Linked DNA regions of Homo sapiens: region 1 is linked to region 2. Evidence: promoter capture Hi-C in 16 types of primary human blood cells and fetal thymus (Javierre and others, 2016). All regions are on one chromosome and are shown on one strand. The core of a region is centred on a gene start or on the middle of the fragment in contact, and the rest is flanking DNA. Distances in the headings are between cores, read along the strand shown. Region 1 overlaps AGPAT3 (1-acylglycerol-3-phosphate O-acyltransferase 3). Region 2 holds the start of AGPAT3 (1-acylglycerol-3-phosphate O-acyltransferase 3).

Evidence for each region. The method cuts DNA at HindIII sites, captures the fragments that hold promoters and counts their contacts. A CHiCAGO score of 5 or more calls a contact.
Region 1: a fragment that was not itself captured here is called in contact with the fragment with the promoter of AGPAT3 in region 2 in 1 of 17 cell types (erythroblasts); the score reaches 5.1 in erythroblasts.

Annotation. Positions count from the first base shown.
Region 1 is chr21:43,907,695-43,910,825 of GRCh38, reverse strand. The region is part of intron 2 of AGPAT3 (1-acylglycerol-3-phosphate O-acyltransferase 3); the gene reads right to left. Among named protein-coding and RNA genes, the nearest start is that of AGPAT3, 44 kb to the right of the region's middle. RefSeq lists an enhancer at 1,953-2,454. The HindIII fragment of the contact is 2,603 bases long and covers 39-2,641 here.
Region 2 is chr21:43,863,647-43,866,718 of GRCh38, reverse strand. AGPAT3 (1-acylglycerol-3-phosphate O-acyltransferase 3) reads right to left here and starts at 1,496. Exons shown (of 10, transcript NM_020132.5): 1 at 1,374-1,496. RefSeq lists silencers at 738-1,057, 1,178-1,527, 2,078-2,437. The HindIII fragment of the contact is 5,864 bases long and covers 495-3,072 here.

The DNA.
Region 1 (3,131 bases), core at 91-2,590, 44 kb before region 2:
CTGAACACTGATGAGATTTGTTTCTTAAGAAAAAAGCTTCCCTTGCAGAATACCTGACTTCACGAGACACAGCTTGGCAGATCAAAGTCTGAGCCCTTTGCTCTCCCCTCATATACATCACACTTCAGAGCACAAAGATAATTCCTCCTCCCACACACAGCAAAGATGTAAGAACTGCAGTGACCGGAACACCCACCTCCTCCAGTCCCCCGTGGGCATACAGCACACTTGCTTCCAGAGGGAAGGCCGGCCCTCCTCGGCCCTCCGCTCCACCTTCACCTCACTGTATTAGGACTTCACCTAATTCACTTAATTCACCTAATTAGGACTAATTCACCTGTATTCACCTAATTCACTAATTCACCTAATTCACCTGTATTAGGACTTCACCTAATTCACTTCACTGTATTAGCACTTCACCTCCTCCTTCACCTCACTGTATTAGGACCCTAGACTGCTGCTGGCAATACGCGCGGCCACAGCCGCTGGGAGACACCTGTGGCTCCACTCCCCTCCTCCAGGGCATCTGTCACCAATCTCTGCAGACCAGCACCCTCTCACGGGCGCAGGACCAGCCTGGCACAAACCTTTGGCTGCCATCAGGGCTGAACACGCACTCCCCAGAAAGAGGCCAGGAGCACAGAGGGAGGCCGTCTCCATCCCTCTCTGTCCTCTGTGTTCCTGAGATAGGTGTGAGTCACACCCTGCAGGCTCCCCTTCCTTGAGAACTCACGAACAGGGGGATCCCAGCCACGGGTCACGCTGTGGGTTTTAACCCGGAAAGAACAAGACACCACACACCTGCCTCACTTCCCCAGGATGCGTCCTAGGTCTCCTAAACTCCCAGTCCAGGGTGTCCTGGGGCACCCTGGTGCAGACCTGGGGGCTTACTCCTCACCACCACCCTCTCCATGATGAGGCCTGGGCCCCCCTCCCCACCGGGCTAGCGTTCAGATAGACCCTGCAGGACGGTGTACTAATGCTCAGGGCGGGGGCCCAGTGCTCCCTCACAGCTTCCCCCTGCAGCAGAGAACAAAGTCCCACCCAGTGGCTTCTCGGAGATCCACAGCCGGCCTGCAGGCCTGGGAGCCAGGCTCTCCTGCAACGAGGGCAGAGCAAGGAGAGACGAGACCTGAGACAAATATGATGGAACAGCACCGTCGGGATACCTTTCATTATCCAGGAAAGACTCAAGAACACTTTAAAGTCCTCTTCAAATGTGTATGAAAAGGCCGGGTACAGTGGCTCATGCCTGGAATCCCAGCACTTTGGAAGGCCAAGACAGGTGGATCACGAGGTCAGGAGATCGAGACCATCCTGGCTAACACGGTGAAACCCCATCTCTACTAAAAATACAAAAAAATTAGCCGGGCATGGTGGCAGGCGCCTGTAGTCCCAGCTACTCGGGAGGCTGAGGCAGGAGAATGGCGTGAACCCGGGAGACGGAGCTTGCGGTGAGCCGAGATCACGCCACCACACTCCGGCCTGGGCGACAGAGTGAGACCCCGTCTCAAAAAAAAAAAAAAAAAAAAATGTGTATGAAAAATGAGTGGCCCACCGCCGGCCAGTCCACTGCCTGCCGTGAAGGGGCCATGGACCGAGGGGCCTGTAGCTTCCGAGGAAGCCACACCAAGTGATGTCAGAGGATCGGCCCAATGGGGCCCTTGGAGCACCCAGACCCGGGAGGAGCCTTTCTTGAAGTTGGAAGAGTGAAGTCCCTTATCAGACAATGTTTGTTGTACAAAGAAAAAAAATAGTAAGTAAAAATTAAAATCAACGAATGAAGTCCTATTCAGGTGAGGCCCGCCTGCTCTCAGGGTTTTTCCCAGTGGCCTCTCTCTCCAGGGCAGGGCTGGCTGTGACAGGGCACGTAAGGACCCAGGAGCAAAAGACGCAGGCCAACCTCGGAGCACAGCAGGGGCATCCGGGGACCGTGTGAGCTGAGCCTGAGCCTGTACCCTCATCCAAAAAATGCAAACAACAGGGTTCGCTCCACAGGGATGGAAGGAAATGAAATGACGAGGGACTTTTGCAGCCTGGAGCTGGCAGGCCACCACGCTGACGCAGCACGGGCTTTGATCCTCGCCCTCATCAGTGAGCATCCTCTGCAATTAGCCTTTTCTTAAAGAACCCAAAGGTTTTAGAAGCTGCTGGCATTTCACAGTCCCCTGAACCTGGACACAGCCCTGAACCCGGAGCTGGAGGCCATAGGTCCTTTCTCATCCTTCTAGTGCCGCACCCACGGCTCCACTCCCCCTACCCCATGCCCTCACCTTCTGTCTATGCAAGAGCTGGGCTCCTGTGCCCATTTCACAGACAGGTCACCAAGGCCCAGGAAAGCAAATGCCTTGTTATGAATCACGGAGCGAGTCATACACACCGGGTTCCACAAGTTCCCAGCCCATGTGCTCCCCCTGATCGGGACACCTCCTTTCTGATCGAGAAGGGCCGGGGCTCAACACACAGGTCAGGTTGGCAGGTGGCCATGTGTGAACTTGGCTGGTTCCGCTCACGACAGGCATTCCTTCCCCAGAGTCCTCAGGGCTGGGGAGTGACCAGCCCCAACAAAGCTGCCAGCTCTGGATATCACCAAATTCACCCCAAGCCCTGGTATTTTGTGCTTTAGGGCACAAGTGAAGCTTGCCAAGTGCCTCATACAAGCCTTGGAAATCTCACTCCAGCTTTGGAACACACACACGTTTTTCCCACATAATTTAGGCTCTGAAGCATTCAGGTCTTCCAGCACACGGAAAGAGAAAGCGTCCCTGGGGTGCCTGAGCCAGCGCCCTCCTCCGAAGACCATCATCCCTTTGCTCTGCTATTACGGGAACATGCTTCCACGAGGGTGGGGACTACTCGGTCCCGTGGGGTCTCCAGCACACGGAGCCGTGCGACGGAGAGGGCGCGCAAACACCCGAGCAGGGGAATCGACAAACGTGTGGCTTTAACATGGTATCGGTCTGCTGGGTTTGGGGGTTTGGTTGTTGTTGCTTTTTGAGTCTGCTGTTTTGTAGAAGCCCGTATTTTTCACAGAGGGAATCAGATGAAACCGAAAACGCAAGCTCTTAGGAAGCTTATATGGAACGGTTTTTTTGTTGTTGTTGTTGTTGAGACGGAGTCTCGCTCTGTCG
Region 2 (3,072 bases), core at 247-2,746:
TGGCATGCAGCTGCTTTTTAGACAATGTCCTCAAGAAGATACTTAAGACTAACCAGAAATGGATACAAGAAGCGAGTTGTAACAGGCACAGGCTAACGCCGAACTCTGTGGGGGAGGAGGATTGGTTGGAAAGAGGGAGGGGGGGCGGCAAAGAAGTGGCCAAATCAAGAGAGTGCTCAGCATCCTCGGGAGACCCCTCTGAAGCTTTCAAACTGAGAAGACGAAGTTCAGCAATTCCTAAGCGAGTCGAGTCGGAGCAGCCGCGCCTGCAATTTAAAAGCTGCAGGATCCTGGGTCCCTCTAGCAGCCTGGGCCCGCCGCCCGCCCCACCTCCCAGCCCCCAGCAGGCTCTCGGCGTTGGCTTTCATTTTTAATAAGAGCCGCATGCTCATCACCCTCTGTCTGGAGGCCAACAGCCCACATCTTTCTTCTACTAAGATCATGTTTCCCAGGAAAAAGAACCCAACTGCTCAAGTATTCTCCTAGACAAAGCTTTTAAAATTGTGCTTTTTTTTTTTTAAAGGTCTGGGAAGCCATTTATAAAAGCATTTTCCCCATGTCACTAAACTTCTCTCAAAGTTAAAAAAAAAAAAAAAAACACTGCACCATTTTTAACTGCCTTCAAATACTAATAACCCTCCTTTCCTAAGTACTTGGGACCAATGTTCCAAGGGTCCTGGGGTGGCCAGGAGTGGGTTTTCGCCCCCACGGCTCTTGCCCCCGGACTGACCCCATCCCCTGACCCGCCCGGTGCAAACGCGCCGCCGGTCTCCGGGCCGAACCCACAGCCAACCCCGGGCCCCGCAGCCCTCCCCGCGCGGAGCGGCAAAAGTGAAACTGCTCCCTTGGCCTGGGCGCGCGAGGAGGAGGCCCCTGGGGGGGGTCCCGGGTCCGCCGCGCCCCGAAACCAGGCGGCGGGCGCGTCCTGTCCACGGGGGAGCCGAGCGGGGCCCGGAGCAGAGTCCAGGACGGAGGGATGGGACGTCCCCGCGGGAACCCACTCGCCCTCCCTCGGCCCGGCCCGGGCCCCTCCCGGGCGCCCCGAACCCCCGGGCCTCCCCGCTGGGCCCAGCGCCACCGAGGCTGCTGCGGGAAGCGGCCGGGGCCTCGCGCTGGACCAGGCCGCCGGGGAGGCCGGGGTTGCGGGGGGCGCACAGGACCCGGGCCCAGACCTCCTCCCGGCCCCGCGCCTTCCCAGGCCCCGCGCCCCGCGGAGCGCGGCCGGCCCATTGCGGCGCGGGGCCCCGGGCGGCCCGAGGTCGGACGGCTGGGGCAGGGGCGACCTCCGGCGGCGGGAGGGCGACCTCGGGCGGCGGCGGGGCGTGGGGGAAGAGGGGGGCGGCCCGACCTCGGGTGGGGGCCTCGGTGCTCACCTGCAGCCGCCGCCACCTGCTCGTCGCGCGGGCGTCCCCGGCGTCGCCTCCGCGGCCCCGCTCTGGCCGCCGCGCTCCTCGGCCCTGGGCCCGGCCCGGCCCTGCGTCGGGGCCTCAGCGAGTGCGGCGCCCGCCGCCCCCGGCCCCCATCCCGCCGCCCTCCGCCCTCCGCCCTCGGCCGCGCCGCCGCCGCCACTTCCTGTGCGCGGCGATCCCACAGTTCCGCCGGCGCGCGCGGGGCGGCCGAGGGACACGCTGGGGGGACACGGGGGAAGGACGCGGGGGGGGACGCGGGGGGACGGCGCGGGGGGGGACGCGGAGGGGACACGGGGGCGACACGGCGGGACACGCGCGCGGAGAGAGGTGTGGGCCGAGGGCGCCGGCGGGGCCGGGCGCGGAGCCTGCGTGGGATCCGCTAACGGACGGGGCTGGGGCCCGGGCTGGGGGAGGGGGCGGGCCGGGACCGCGGGGGGCGCGGGGATCAGGGGGGTCGGGGCTGAACGGGGGGAGGCGGCGAAGGACCAGGCTGGGGTCCCGCGAGGGCTCCCCCGGACCGGGTCGGGGGCAGAGGGGGCCGGGGCGCGGGGTGGGGCCGGGAGGGGCCTCCGAGCTCTGCCTGGGCCCCGCCATCTCCCCTGCCGGGGTCTCCTGCGGGCGCCGGGGAAGTTTCGCGCGCGAGCTCCTGCCCTGGTCGGCCGGGGCTTAGGGTCGCCGTCAGGGGTCGCCGCGCGGCGGGCTCGGTGGGGACGGCCCTGCGCGCAGCGGCTCCGCGGAAGGATCGCGTTTCGGCCCACGTGCCGCGCCCTTGGACTTATTCATAGTTGGCACCCGGCTGGCAACACTGTATCGACACTTGACCGTGGCGGGGGTGGGGGTCGCCCCGGGGCTGCCCTGCGAACCCCCGCGGGCGCTGACGCCGTCCCCTCCAGACCGCGGAGCCCTCTCAGCCCCAGGACAGCGGCTGCCGTCCCCCCTCCCTTGCACCTGGCCAGCGGCCGATCCCAGAACCTGCGGAGGCCGCGCAGGTGCCGCTGTCAGGGCAGGGCCCGCTGCGGGCTCCGCCTCCTGCGCCCGGTACCTTGTGTGACCTGGCGCCTGCTCAGGTCCTCAGGCCCCGGCTGGACTTGCTGAGCTTGGGTGGGCTTCATTTGAAAACCATTTAAAATACCAAGTACTGGTACTGTCTACTGTGCCCCTTTTTTTCCTTTTTTTTTTTTTTATTTTTATTATTATTGAGACAGGGTCTTGCTCTGTCGCCCACCCTGGAGTGCAGTGGTACAATCATAGCTCGCTGAAGCCTTGAACTCCAGGGCTCAAGTGATCCTCCCACCTCAGCCTCCCAAGTAGCTGGGACCACAGGCACACACCACCATGTCTGGCTAATTTAAAAAAAATTTTTTTTGTAGAAATGGGGCCTCACGGTGTTGCCCAGGCTGATCTCGAACTCCTGAGCTCAAGTATTCTCCCACCTCCTCCTCTCAAAGTGCTGGGATTACAAGTATGAGCCCCCGCACCCAGCTTGCACCTCCCTTTAAGCCTCCTCAAATTATTTCAGAAAATACTTAGACTAAAATAAAATGAAAGTACCGTGCACCTGTCCTACTCACAGTTCCCTTATTCTTGAAAAAGGAGTTAAGATTTGCAAAGCTCGTGGAATTCACCATTTGTAAAACCTCTCACCCCTCATGTCATTTTGGGT